Linked DNA regions of Homo sapiens: region 1 is linked to region 2. Evidence: promoter capture Hi-C in 16 types of primary human blood cells and fetal thymus (Javierre and others, 2016). All regions are on one chromosome and are shown on one strand. The core of a region is centred on a gene start or on the middle of the fragment in contact, and the rest is flanking DNA. Distances in the headings are between cores, read along the strand shown.

The links. Contacts are between HindIII fragments. The CHiCAGO score rates a contact against its expected background, and 5 or more counts as called.
Region 1: a fragment that was not itself captured here is called in contact with the fragment with the promoter of AHSG in region 2 in 9 of 17 cell types (non-activated CD4 T cells, activated CD4 T cells, total B cells and 6 more); the score reaches 12.6 in non-activated CD4 T cells.

The regions. Positions count from the first base shown.
Region 1 is chr3:185,955,338-185,962,738 of GRCh38, reverse strand. It overlaps the pseudogene NMRAL2P. Among named protein-coding and RNA genes, the nearest start is that of TRA2B, 21 kb to the right of the region's middle. The HindIII fragment of the contact is 4,527 bases long and covers 1-4,148 here.
Region 2 is chr3:186,608,370-186,616,089 of GRCh38, reverse strand. It overlaps AHSG (alpha 2-HS glycoprotein), which reads right to left and starts at 3,030. Exons shown (of 7, transcript NM_001622.4): 1 at 2,736-3,030; 2 at 295-405. The coding sequence starts at 2,948. The HindIII fragment of the contact is 5,898 bases long and covers 1-4,215 here.

The DNA of each region.
Region 1 (7,401 bases), core at 636-3,135, 650 kb after region 2:
TCTCGCCTATTTTATGACAACCACCTCCTAACAGGTCTTCCTGCTTCAGCCCTTATCCCCTATAGTCCCTTCACAAAGCATAAGCTAAAATGATCCTTTTAACACCAAAGTCATGTGATTCCTCTGCTCAAAATCCTTCAGTGTCTGGTATGCTGTTGCAATCCTGCAGTCCCAGCTACTTGGGAGGCTGAGGTGGGAAGATCACTTGAGCCCAGGAGTTTGAGGCTGTGTACTATGATGGCTCCTGGGATGGAGAGTCACTACCCTCCAGCCCAGGCAACACAGTGAGACCCTGTAGCTAAACACAAACACACTGAAAAAACCAAACCCTTCGATCACTTTTCTCTTTCAGGAAAAGCCAACATCTTTACCATCACCCTAACGCTTAATAGAGTCATCCCCCGCTCCATTGCCTCTTCTTCTCCTTTTAATATCATACTTGACTGTTGATTTTTGAGAATTTATTTCACTCTGCTTCCTGCTTTAGCCCTTGACTTCCTCCAGACAAATTCCTGTTCTCATAGAGCTTATATTCTAGTGTGGAAAGACAGGCAGAAATAGAAGAATTGAAGTAAGGAAGGGAGCCAGACATGGGCAGGGTGGAAGCAGAGTTGCAATTTCAAATATAGAGGTCTGGAAAGTCCCCATGGAAAAGGTAACATCTAAGCAGAGACCTGAATGGCATGAGGGGGAAAGCAGTGGGTAACTGTGTTAGTTCTTTCTCACACTGCTGTGAAGAAATACCCAACACTGGGTAATTTATAAAGAAAAGAGGTTTAATTGACTCACAGTTTCACATGGCTAGGGAGGTCTCAGGAAACTTACAATCATGGCGGGAGACACCACTTCACAGGGTGGCAGCAGAGAAAATGAGGGCCCAGTGAAGGGGGAAGCCGCTTGTAAAACCACCAGATCTCATGAGAACGAACTCACTATTGATACGAACAGGAGACAGGGAAATACTGGGTAGAAGAGGGTGGTTCCTGGCAAAGGCCCCACCCTTAAGCCTGGATACCTGCTGCCCTAAGTAATAGGCATTCCTGTTTTTGCACCCCAAAAGTTGCCTTCTGGCCTGCCACCACCCCTATCCTGTATCCATATAAGCCCCAAACCCCAGGCTCCAGAAGCAGACTAGGAGACAAGGAGACAAACAGATGGCAGAATGGTGCAGCAGAGGAGAGAAGAGAAGGAACGTCAGGAGGAGTTTGGCTGAGGATGTTCGGAGAATCAGCCACTGGACAGCCAAACTCCAGGGCAAGATCATATTTCTACTCCATCCCCTGTCTAGCTCCCCAACCATCCCACTGAGAGCCACTTCCACCACTCAATAAAACCCCTGCATTCATCCTTCAAGTCCATGTGTGACCTGATTCTTCTGGGATGCTGGATGAGGGCTTGGGATACAGAAAGTTGTCACACTAGCCCCCTCCTTTTGCAAAAAGGCAGAGGGTTCACTGAGCTGGTTAACCCTTAAGCCATCTGTGGATGGCAAGGCTAAAAGAGTGCACTGTAACACATGCACACTTGGGCTTTGAAAGTTACAGACACCCACCCCTAGATGCTGCCATAGGGCTGGAGCCCAAAAGCACTTGCCCCAGTTCCTGCACCTACCGGTATGCATGCTCCCCATCTCTTAAAGAGTTTGAGCTTGCAGTGGCAGAACAGAGAGCCACACCCCTGTGGCACACCCTGTGGTGGGGGACCAGGACCAGGGAACTCTCTCTTTTCACTATCATGAGAACAGGCTGGGGGAACCGCCCCCAGCATTCATTTATCTCCACCTGGTCACTCGTATGACATGTAGGGATTGTGGGAACTACAATTCAAGATGAGATTTGGGTGGGGACACAGTCAAATTATATCAGTAACAGAGGGAGATCATTCTAGGTTGAAGAAGCAGCCAATACAAAGGCCAGAGCCTTTGTATTTGTGGGATTGTTTTGGAGGAACAGCAAGAAAGCCAGGGTAATGAAGCGGAGTGAGAGGAGGGTGGCAGGAAGAGAGTTCTGACACAACATTTCCAAGGCCCTGTTGCAGGGCATTAGCAGGACTTTGCACTTTACTGGGAGTGCCATGGGGCTGGGATCTTTTAGAGGGTTTTGAGCAGAGGCCTGACATGATCTGACAGTTTCAAATGGATCCTTGGGAGGCTGAAATGAGAATAGATTGAAGGAGAAAAACCTGATTTGATTTATATTGTGCAAAGATGGCTCTGACTGTTGAGGAACAAACTGTAAGGGAGCCAGGAATGCAAACTTCCCACACACTCCATCCTTGCAGACTCCCTGGAAGATTGGTCAGGCATTGGATATTCACTACAAACCCCCAGGCCCCTCACACTTGTACCTTTTGCTTATTAGGAAGTGAGTGGAGAGAAGACTTCAGAGTATAGCTTATGTTGAAATGAGACTTATACCAACCAGTTAGCCCCATGACTGGGAAAGGGAGATTACGTCAGTGTCCTTGTCCTGCTGAGATCAAGTTACAAATCAAATCATGCCACCCCTTTACCACATCAAGAACTAAAGCAATAGGATACTTTAAAAAATTTCTTCCAAAGAGCTCTTTGTTCAGCCCACACTTGCAGGCTCTAAAGTTACAAACAGGAAGACAGGAGAGTGAGCAAAGTCAGCATGCCCTAAAAATTAAAGACTTTTTACCTGTTGCTCCAAACACTGTAATTACTTTCTTGCTGGCCATGTTATCAGGAAAAGAGAGAGTCAGTGGAGTAACAGAACTTTCCCTGGAGCAGCGACACCAGCCGAAATGCTGTGTTTCTTCTCTGGTGAGAATTATAAACCCATTCCAATTACCACGCCTTTTATTGTGCCCCTCCTTGTTCCTGTTACCACTAGTCCACTTACTCACTGTGACACTGCAATTTTCAATTTTCTTTTTTTCTTTTTCTTTTCTTCTTCTTTTTTTTTTTTTTTTTTTTTTTGAGATGGAGTTTTGTTCTTGTTACCCAGGCTTGAGTGCAATGTCACAGTCACAGCTCACTGCAATCTCCACCCACTGGGTTCAAAGGATTCTCCTGCCTCAGCCTTCCAAGTAGCTGGGATTACAGGCACGTGCCACTATGCCTGGCTAATTTTTTTTTTTTTTTTTTTTTTTTGTATTTTTAGTAGAGACGAGGGGATTTCACCATGTTGGCCAGGCTGGTCTCGAACTCCTGACCTCAGGTGGTCCGCCCACCTTGGCCTCCCAAAATGCTGGGATTACAGGCATGAGCCACTGCACTCAGCCAACACTGCTGTTTTCTTTCTTTCTTTCTTTCTTTCTTTCTTTTTAATGGAGTTTCACTCTTGTTGCCCAAACTGGAGTGCAGTGGCGCAATCTCAACTCACCGCAACCTCTGCCTCCCGGGTTCAAGCAATTCTCCTGCCTCAGCCTCCCAAGTAGCTGGGATTACAGGCATGCACTATCACACCCAGCTAATTTTGTATTTTTAGTAGAAGTGGGGTTTCACCATGTTGTTCAGGCTGGTCTCGAACTCCCAACCTCAGGTGATCCACCCACCTCGGCCTCCCAAAGTGCTGGGATTACAGGCATGAACCACTGCACCTGGGCTGACACTGCAATTTTCTAAATGAAGACTGATTCACTCACATATTTATTTGTTCAGCAAATGTGCATTGAGTGCCTTTGGTATACAAGGCATTGAACTAGATGTCCTGGTGATGTGGCTCTTGTAAGGGGGCTAAGCTCATAAATAAATAAAACTGTAGTACAGGGCAATGGCAAAGGAAACTCAAGGGACCTAAGTCATGGAGGAGAAGCACAAAACCCAGAATTAGGGAAGGTTTTCTCAGAGGAGATAATGCTGCAGTTGGCCTGAAGACCCAACATGAGTCATTTATTCAGGGAGTGTAGGGAGAGAAACCATCGCAGGCAGGAAAAACTTCACACAGCCAAGCCCAAAGGCAGGGCAATGATCCCACAGGGTCATGATGGCTGCAGCAATGCTATGTGAGCAGCAGGAAATAAGACGGAAGGAGAGCAAAGGCCCAGAACACAAAGGGCATGCTAGGCATGGTGAGGAGCTTGGCTTATCCCAACAGCCACAGCAGTATTATGAGATCTTCTGGCAGCAGAGTAGTGGCTGGGTTGAAATAAGACAATGCTGGAAGCAGGGACAGTCCTAAGCTTATCCTGAAGAAATGACATAGGTGAGAAACACTAAAGGCTTGAACAGAGGCAGCGTCAGGAGTTGTATTGTGTCCTCCCTCCACCAACAAAATCCATGGTGAAGTCCTCATCCCCAGTACCTCAGAATGTGACCTCATTTGGAGATAGGGTTCTTTTTTTTTTTTTTTTTTTGAGACAGAGTCTTGCTCTGTTGCCCAGGCTGGAGTGCAGTGGTGCAATTTTGGCTCACTGCAACCTCTGCCTCCCAGGTTCAAGTGATTCTCCTGCTTCAGCCTCCCAAGCAGCTGGGCATACAGGTGTGCACCACCACACCTGGCTAATTTTTTGCATTTTTGATAGAGACAGGGTTTCACCATGTTGGCCAGGCTGGTCTTGAACTCCTGCCCTCAAGTTATCCGCCCGCCTCGGCCTCCCAAACTGCTGGGATTACAGGCGTGAGCCACCATGCCTGGCCTGGAGATAGGATCTTTACAAAGCTAATCAAGGTAAAATGAAATAATTAGGGTGGGTCCCAATCCAATATGACTGGTATCCTTGGTAAAAGGGGAAATTGAGACACAGATAGGTACTGGGGAAAGGCAATGTGAAGATACAGGGAGAACACCTATGATCATGAAGCTGGCTATCTACCAGCCAAGGAGAAAGGGCTGAAGCAGAGCCTTCCTTCGTAGCCCCCAGAAGGAACCAACCCCGCCAACACCTCGACTTCCAACCAACAAGAGACAATGGGACAATACGTTTCTGTTACTTACGCCACTAACTTGGCGGTACTTTGTTATGGCAGCCATAGCAAATTATTACAGGTGGTGACAATGGGAGTAAAGTGAAAGAAATTTAAGAGGTAAACTGAGAAGGTCTTCATGATTGATTGGATGTGGAGAAAGGGAAAGTAAGGAAGAAAAAGGGCTAAAAAAATGACTCTGCCAACTGGATGGGGAATGGTGAGCAGGAGCAGGGGTCACGGGGAATGACTTCAGAGTTGGACTGGTTGGAATTGAAACTACATCTTGGGAGGTGAGGAGGTGAAGAATACAAGTGCAGATGCCTCCTTTGAAGAGCCCTGCCATGAAGGAAGGACAAGTGAACTGTGGTTACAAGATAAAGTGGAATTTTTTTTTGAGACGGAGTCTTGCTCTGTTGCCCGGGCTGGAGTGCAGTGGCATGATCTCAGCTCACTGCAACCCTGCCCCCTGGGTTCAAGTGATTCTCCCACCTCAACCTCCCGAGTAGCTAGGACTACAGGCATGCACCACCATTCCCAGCTAATTTTTGTATTTTTTGTAGAGACGGGGTTTTGCCACGTTGCCCAGGCTGGTCTCAAACTTCTGAGATCAAGTGATCCTCCTGCCTCAGCCTCCCGAAGTGCTGGGATTACAAATGTGAGCCACCAGGCCTGGCCCTGTAATTATTTTAATAGGAAAGATATGAACATGTTTCTGAATTCTGCCTCCACGCCCTTCAGCTTTCTCAGGAACCTAACTCCACCAATCATATATTCATAATAGCATATGAATGGAATTGAAAATAGCAGTTGAGGCCAGGCGCGGTGGTTCACGCCTTTAATCCCAGCACTTTGGGAGTCCGAGGCGGGCGGATCACAAGGTCAGGAGATTGAGACCATCCTGGCTAACACGGTGAAACCCTGTCTCTACCAAAAATAAAAAGAAATTAACCGTGCATGGTGGCGGACGCCTGTAGTCCCAGCTACTCGGGAGGCTGAGGCAGGAGAATGACATGAACCCAGGAGGTGGAGCTGGCAGTGAGCCCAGATCGCGCCACTGCACTCCAGCCTGGGTGACAGAGCGAGACTCCGTCTCAAAAAAAAAAAAAAGAAAATAGCAGTTGAAATAGAATGGCATATGAATGGACTATAATAGCATATGGATGGAAACTGAAAATAGCGGTTACCTAAATGATACCTCAGCTTTGTTGCCAAACAGAAATGAATACAGACCCAAAACAGGGGCAAATCATGGATCTACAGCCCCTCTGCCCTTTACCTGTCCCTCTACTCTTTCATTTACATCTCCTGCTCCTGCCCGATTATTCTCCCAAGAGGAAGCAATTCTAAGTTCCCTCCTCCACAATTGTAAACCGCAATGAAACTGAGAGGTAAATTCTGGAGTTGTAAAGATTAAAAGAGTTGGTTATACACAAGTGTTCATTTCTTGAGGGCAAAGTTGCAGTGGCTGGCCTGGACAAGCTACATCCAGAGGGCCCAGGTAAGTGGGAAACTGTATGTTCTCATTTCCAAGATGAAGATACTAATGGAATAAAGCGAGATATGTCACAAGAAAGATATATAGTGCCTCTGCTACCCTAAACTACAAGTCCCACACTAACCATACAGGGAATTTTCAGTCCCATTCAAAGCAGAGGCGCAAAAGAGACAAAGATTTACATCCAAGGTAGTTTATCCACAGCATTATTTGTATTGACAAGAACTGCAGATAAGCTAAATATCAACCATTAGGGGGTTAGTTAAATAAATTGTGGTAGAGCCATAAGACAGAATGATAGAGATCTCCATTAAAAATTACATTTTGCAGGAATTTTTATAAAGTGAGAAATGCTCACAATGCAAAGTCATACAGAATCAATGACATAGGAGTTAAAAAGAAATTACTTAGGCAGATAGTGAGGATAAGGAAGTCCTTAGTAATGTTTTCCCTTTAATGAAAAGCAGCCCCAACATCATTTTCTTCTCTAACAAAGAGCAGCCTGTAAAATCAAGCTGCAGACATAGACAAGCAAGCTGGAAACTTGCACAGGTGAATGTCGCCAGTCGTGCCAATAGGAAAAGGCTACCTGGGACTACGCATGATCAAAATGGCAGATCCATCTTCCCTTCTCTTTGCCAGCCATGCATACAGCAAGGAGCAGACAAGATGGCACTGGCCAAGTGGAAAGCCCATTTGCATAATAAGATTAGGGTGGGATGACCAGCCTTCCCCACAAGCTAGGTAAATGTCACACCTGGTCAAACCAATCTGTGGGCCCTACATAAATCATACATTGCCTCCTCAAGCCTACCTGTAAAATCTGCTATGGTCCACCGCAGGCCAGCTTTTCCCTTTCAGACGCCCCTCTGTCTGGTAAGAGAGAGGAAACTGCTCTCCTTTCTCTTTTTTTTGCCTATTAAACCTCTACTCCTAAACTGACTCCTTGCGTGTGTCCATGTCTTTAATCTTGGTGCGAGACAACAAATCCCAGCTATTTACCCCAGACAATGAAGCCGCTACATCAGCAGTA
Region 2 (7,720 bases), core at 1,781-4,280:
GAGGAGCTGGGATTTACAGGTGCCCGTCACCACGTCCAGCTAATTTTTGTATTTTTAGTAGAGATGGGGTTTCACCATACTGGCCAGGCTGGTCTTGAACTCCTGACCTCAGGCGATCCACTTGCCTCAGCCTCCCAAAGTGCTGAGATTATAGGCATGAGCCACTGCGCTCGGCCACAAATGGCAATTTTAGAAACTGCACCCTGGCTAGCCAAGAAGGCAGGCTGAGACGCTGGGTGAATCGGTGGAGCTGGCCGAAGGGCCACCTACAGTCATCCTAAGAAGGGTACTCACATGCTCCTTCAGCTGCCTCACGCTGCATCTTGCCACAGGGGTGGGGTCCAGCACATGGCAGGTGGTTTCCAGGGTGTCTATTTCAATCTCAAACAGCTCTCCGGAGGGCTGCTGTGGAGACAAAGAGTGAAGCCGTGAGCAACCTATTCCCCTGATCCTGTGGTGCGGTCCACGGTATGCGCCCTCATTGGGCTTGAGAGCACCCCGCTTTTGGAGAGGTGAGGGAAATGTCATTCTTACTGTCAGTCTGCAACTCCGTCTAGCTCTGAACTGGCCTGTGGGCAGGACAATGACCAGGGCTTGTCTGGTCTTCGTCTGTTGATTAAGGAAGCACCAGATGATGCTCGCAAAGCAGACGGGGTCCTGGGCTTGAACAAGTCGATGGAGCCACAGCCCTCACTCTGAGCTCTATTTGAAAACTACAAATGGGTGTTAACACTTATTTGTATTTATTATTTATTTAATTTTTTAAGATTTCACTCTTCAAGCAGTGCTTTGGAAAATGCAAGTTTGGATTTTTCTCAGACAAGCTGCAAAATAAGGTGGTGTAGGGTAATATCTTACTGTCTTTTTTTAATCTCCTCTATCCCTCCCTCTCCTTCTTTCTTTCTTCCTTTTCATTATTTGCTTTCCTTCCTTCCTCCGTTTTCTTTTCCCTCCTAGAGGTTTTTGCTGCTGTTGTCCTTGGTTTTTCCTTTGTCTTGGCTTGTGCAGCAGGTGCCGGCATGCAACGATGCTGCTCTCTACTTCCCCCTGCTGGCGATAATGGGGAAGGGCATGTCTCCCTCTGACAGGAAACTGGATGTCACTAGTGTAGACACGAGGGAGCTTGCAACAATCCTTGGAGATATTCTTGTGAGTTCACCTGTTTCTGTATCTTGTCTTCGAAGCCTGAAAAATCCAGAAGGTACAAGTATGCCTTTTCTCCTCTCAGCCCAGCTCTGTTTGCCTCTCATTGGTTCTGCCTGATTCACTAGTACCTGAAGCCTCAGCATCCCCTCCCCTGGGAGAAGCTCCGCATTTTATGATGTCCAGGTGTGCCCAGAGTGACTGCCTGAAAGCGTTCACAGCTCTGGCGAACAGGAACCGGGTACACCTGGGTTTCTCAAGGGAACCAACTCTGAAGCTCTGCCTTTAGTAAAAGTCACAATGCCCATTCATGATTACCTTTTCCCTCAGATGTGCGTGTTGCGTGTTCATTTCCCCTGACTTGATCAGCGTTTCCTCCTAACCACCACTGTGCTTTAATATGGCTGCAGCACTCTTAAAATCCATCCGGAGCAATCCTGATTTCAAATATTTTGTCTCTTTGTGAGACGGATGGCAGTCGTCAGTCGGTCCAGGCTTCCTGTTGTTGACCTTATTTTCCAACCTAGATTGTAAGCTCTTGTGGGCACATATTGTGCCTTTTTCACCACTGTATTAGGTTGAACCATTAAAACGGCCAATATTTGGTTGCTTTTGATATAGAAAAATGGCAGTTTTATATGGTTCAACCTAATATCTCTGGTTCTTGTCCAAGGAAGGCTTGTAATACATATTTGCTGAAAGAATTGTCCTTAATCAGAAATAAATCTAATTTCAAAACAGGCAGTAGGCAGACAGCTTCTTTCCACCTCTCCAAATCTCTTGACTGATCCCCGAGGCATATTTCCAGCTTGATTTTTCTTGTCACTGGCTTCAAGCTGCGTTGGTTTCCTGTCTAGTGTGTGAGGAGGTGAATTGTGTTTATGCCAAGACTTCTCTCTGGGATGTGGGTAACTCTCTTTGGGAGGCAGTTTGTGTAGAAGAAGGAACACAGATATGGAATCAAATCCCAGCCTGAAGACTTAGTAATTATATGATTTTGGACCAAAAAAAAAAAGACAAAAACAAAAAACAAAAAAACTGCACACACACACACAACAGAGCCTTGGTCTCCTCTTGGGTAAGACAAGAACAATATATGTACCACACAGCACCAGGAGGCAGGACCGGGAAAGAGTAAATGAGATAATCTATGTGAATGGGCCTGGCATATAGTAGGCATCTGCCAGATGCTAGTTTTATTCATTCTCAGTCTTTGTTAGAGAGAAACCAAACCAAAGACAGATACGTGATTTTCAGCCAGTGGTAACTTGGCAACTAGGAGCTGGTCTCTTGGGTCCTAGTTTTTCCAGCAAGTTACACTTTCTGTCTGTGATCTGCACACTACCATTTGAAGCACTTTTTCTCCTGCACACCACCTCACACCCCACCCAGCTCCCTCCTGACACCCATGACTGCCATACAGAATGTCTCCTCTCCTGCCCTCTGCCTGCCCCTTCCCTCACTCCTGGGAAGAAATCAGAGAATTTACTCCTCTGTGGTTTCATTTGCACTGGGTGATGGTGATTTTTTGAGGCACCTGATTGAGCTCCATGTACACATTATTTCAGCTCATAGACAGCAGGTCCACTTACCTGAGGCCACACCTTTACTTCATCAATCTGGTTCAAGGTGTGTTTGTATCCCCAAGGAAGGTTTTGATTGATGTAGTCTATAGCCACCAGAGCTGCTTCCTCAGTTTCTGGATCATCGCAGTTCGGTTGTCTATAAATCAGCCCTGGGCCATGTGGGGCTGAGTGGCAGCCCCAGAGCTGAGCAAGACAAAGGAGCAGGACGAGGGACTTCATGGCTGCCCCAGAGAGGCCCTGGCAGGCGTGCAGGTGGTTGGAGGCTTCGGGACCAACCCAGGTGCTCTGCTGGGAAAGGTAGACCCATGGAGGGTGGTGGGCTTTATTTATCTGTTGGAGCCTGCCGGAAGAATTGCATAAGGATACAGGATGATTTCTGCTTTGGTTCAAAAGAAAAAAAAAAACACCCTGCAAACATCAGCCCTGGAAAAGCAAACAGGTTAGGACATCGCTGGTCCCCAAGAAATCTGCCAAAGTCCATGCTGCTGTGGGGGAGATGCTCCAAAGTCTGCTTGGAACATGGTAATAGCAGCAAAGAGAAGACAGCTGAGGGAATGAGGTGGACACAGTCAGCCTCAGAGTGCCATGGGTTTGGCAGCAGAGGAAATGTCTTCTACTGTGATCTGAGCATGCCATGGGGTCTGTGAGAGGGAAGGGAGGATACTCAGCAATTTGATAAAATTCTCCAATGTCAGGGGGAGTTAGCTTTCCAAGAGGAGTCCTACAGGGAGAACAAGGCCCACAGATATAGCAAAGGTACAGATGTGTATAGGAGATGCCAAGATTTTGGGGGAAGATTCTTGGAGAAAAGAAAAAGGATGAGAGATGTTTCTGCCTAAAGTGGGGAATGGAGGTGGAAGAAGGGGGTTCCCGTGGCAGGACCACGGTGGGAAATGACCAGCAAAACGTGTGGGGTTCCCTGCCCCTTCTCTTCCTTCTCCAGACCTCACTGCCAGGGCCCTGCATGTGACAGCACAGATGGGCACTGACCAGAGTCTCCTAGCACTAGTAACCTAGTGCCCCTGCCAGTGCACAAGGGCAGCAGAGGGGAGTCCTGACTCATTTGACACAGCTCTGGGTTCGAGTCTGACACCGCAGGCTGAGATGCTGCACGAGCAGCTACGGACACAAATACCCCTTGAACATTCTTTGCAGACTCAGCAGAATTACAGTGTGTCTTTCTGGCCAGAACAGAGGGCCAGTGTTGACTCCAGGCACTGCCTATTAAGTGACCCTTGACAATTCCAAGTGTGACATCCAAGGAGGGTTGGCAGGATAAAGAGAGGCTTGGGAAATATCACACAAGGACCTGGTTTGGTTTAGTCTGAAGCAAAGAAGCCCTCTCATGGAGACCAACATGGTCTTCAAATATTTAGAGGCCATCATTGTGTGTGGGTGAATTTGTTCTAATGTTTGATATTGCTTCAGAGAAAAAAAAACTGGTTAAAAAAAAAAGAAAGAAGAGGGGCCCCTCCAAAGGGAAGCTTAATATTGATTTTCTGGGGTGAGAATCGGGGTGAGGGAGGTGAAGTGAGTGGTGATGGGGCAGAGAAGGTAGTTGGCAGGACTGTTCTCACATTTACTCCCAGCTGCTCACACACCACACCGAATCTTAATGTCAGAAGCTCAGAAGGTGTGGCCAGGACTCCAGGTTCTCTCCAAGAGGGGGACCATGATTCTTCCAGATGAAAAACAAACTCTGGTCATCCAGCAAGATGATCCTCAAAGCCAGGGGCAATCTTCCATCACCTTATACTCCATTTCACTCAGGGCCCTGACTCCTGAACTGTGTGTGGAAGCTATGCTTTTCTTTATATAATCTTTAAAAATATTGAAGGGCTGGGCACGGTGGTTCACACCTGTAATTCCAGCACTTTGGGAGGCTGAGGTGGGCAGATCACGAGGCCTAGAGATTGAGCCCAACCTGACCAACACAGTGAAACCCTGTCTCTTCTAAAAATACAAAAATTAGCTGGGCGTGGTGGCGCGCGCCTGTAGTCCCACCTACTCGGGAGGCCGAGACAGGAGAATCACTTGAACCCAGGAGGTGGAGGTTGCAGTGAGCCAAGATTGCGCCACTGCACTCCAGCCTGGCAACGGAGTGGGACTCCGACTCAAAAAAAAGAAAAATTGAATAAAGTGTGGTAAGGTGGCACACACCTGTAATCCCAACTATGAAGGCAGGATGATAGCATAAGACCTGGAGTAGGCTATGGTTGCAGTGAGCTATGATAGTGCCACTGCACTCCAGCCCAGCCAACAGAATGAGACTCTGTCTCAAAAAAGAAATCATTCACAATCTCATCATGCAGAGATAAACAGTGTTAATGTTTTGATGCATTTATATCTTTTCTTTTTTTCTATGTAAAATAATATTTTAATATAATTTTGATTATACTGCATATACAGCTGTTAAAATTTTTTCACCTATTGCTTTAACTTGAATATTTTCCTATGTCATTAAGTAGACTTAAAAACATGTTTACAGGCCAGGCACGGTGGCTTACACCTGTAATCCCAGCACTTTGGGAGGCCAAGGCAGGTGGATCATGAGGTCAACAGATAGAGAGCATCCTGGCCAACATGGTGAAACCCCATCTCTACTAAAAATACAAAAAATTGGCTGGGCGTGGTGCTGGACGCCTGTAATCTCAGCTACTTGGGAGGCTGAGGCAGGAGAATCACTTGAACCTGGGAGGCAGAGGTTGCAGTGAGGGGAGATTGTGCCACTGCACTCCAGCTTGGGCAACAGAGTGAGACTCTGTCTCAAAACAAAAAACAAAAAAAAACAAAAAAAAAACAAAAAACAAAAAAACAAAAAAACACACTTTTTTATTTAGGAATCTTTGGCTTTTGATTCTTTTTTTCAGGATAGATTTTTAGAAGTAAAATTATTGATTCTAATGATTTGCACATTTTTAAAGCTCTTAATTTTTATAGTCAAATAGTCTATTTGGCTATGCCAATTTATCCCCCTTCCATTTAGCTGTTGTGTGATGTCAGCTCAGCTGTTTTCTCTTTTCCTCTGTTACTGCTTTCATGCTGACTTTTGTGGGAACTTAGATATGTGAACACTCTCAGAATTCTTTTTTAAAAATGTAATTTATGAATATCTTTGCTTTTATCACAGCTACTCCATATGTCTAATACTTATAAACTAAAATAACTTTGGTATCAAGCTGAGTAAAATGATCCCTTAGATTTTTTCAGTTTCCTTAGAAAGAAATGTTGCCATTTACTTACTGGAAATGAGGAAGAAAATAGATGATATTTTGGTATGTTTTCCAAGATGGCTGTAGCATTAGTGCCAATGGGTAGTTCCCTGTGCCTGATGACACCAGTTTTAAACTTTAAAAGATTCTCACTTGCCAAATGTATATGGGACTCATGAGTGATCTTCACGTGCTGAATACATATACTCATGAGTAATCTTGGGTCAGTTTGATCCAACTGGCTCCAGCTTCTTTGCATATCAGTAGGAGATAGGCATTTCCTCCATTTTCTGGTCCTTTGCTGCATTATTTTAGTTACTTTTCTGTGCATTTTTCTATGAGGCTCACATCACAGCAATAAAATAATCCTCATTCCATTCACACTATGATGGCTGATAGTGTATTGAGGATATCAAGGGCTTGTTAGAACTGGTCAAGGAGAGCAGGCCCAACAGTCTAAGGAGCAGGAGAGGATCAACAATCTCCAGGAGATGGCAGCAGGGTGCCGGGCAGTGCTTGCTGGGTGCAACCCTTGTGTGGCTGATGGCAGAAATCTCAAGATGGCAGCTGTCTTAGTCCATCTGTGTTTCTATAAAGAAAAACCTGAGGCTGGGTAATTTATACAGAAAAGAGGTTTATTTGGCTCATGGTTCGCAGGCTGTACAAGAAGCATGACACCGGCATCTGCTTCTGGTGAGGGCTATAGGCTGCTTCCACTCATGGCGGAAGGCAAAGAAGAGCTGGCGTGCGCAAGCTCTTGGTGAGAGAGAGGAGAGATGCCCGGCTTTTTCTTTCTTTCTTTCTTTTTTTAACAACCAGCTCTCACGGAAAATAATATAGCAGGAATTCATTCATTACCACCAGGATGGCACCAAGCCCTTCATGAGGGATCTGTCTCCATGACCCAAACACCTCCCATTAGGCCCCACCTCCAACATTGGGGATTACATTTCAACATGAGACGTGGGGGGACAAACATCCAAAGTAGAGCAGCAGCTAAGGATGGCACCAGGGTTCCTGAATTTGTCAAAAGGACTCTTTGCCAGGGAGCCACTAGGGCAAGTGTTGTATTTAAACTATTCCAAGGCAGAATTCAGTGTTTATAGTTGCAGGCCAGGAGCCACAACAACAAAGATCACCAGGGTCAGAGCTCAGGGTCAGAGTTTCTCAGAGGTTGGTTCCATTAGTGGATGTGGGTATAGGAGGGAGAGGATAGATATAGAAAGATATGAAATATCCCGTCAGGCAGCAAGAGCTAAGGTGATAGCTAGAAACCAGCCTCTCACAAAACAGAAGATGAAAAAGTGCCTGTCAGCAAAAGCCAGAAGGACAACTGGTTTCTGTAGGGAGGAAATAGCAGTGGTTGGTTTTTAAATCATTAGGTCAGGTTCATGGCTCTGCCCTTTCTGGTACTTAAAGGGCCTAGGCCCTGATAGACTGGGTATTAATTTCACTCAAAGACTGGGTGTTTCTTCATTCATATGTTCAATGAACAAACATTTATTGAGCACCTACTATCTGTGTTATCAGATGCCTGGACACAGAGTGATGAGAACCACATGCTCTGGAGGAGCTCATCTTGACTCATTTAGTCCGGCAATGCCTGATCAGCAAAGAACTTTATGTTAATATATGAAACTATCATAATATTATTATACAAATTATCATATTTTCCTGTGGAGACAGGTTGGGATTTACTTCGCCAATGCAAAGCACCAGTGAATGAAAGCAAATTACCTTTGTCCAAGGACCCATCTGGTTTCTTGTGAAAGTAACTTA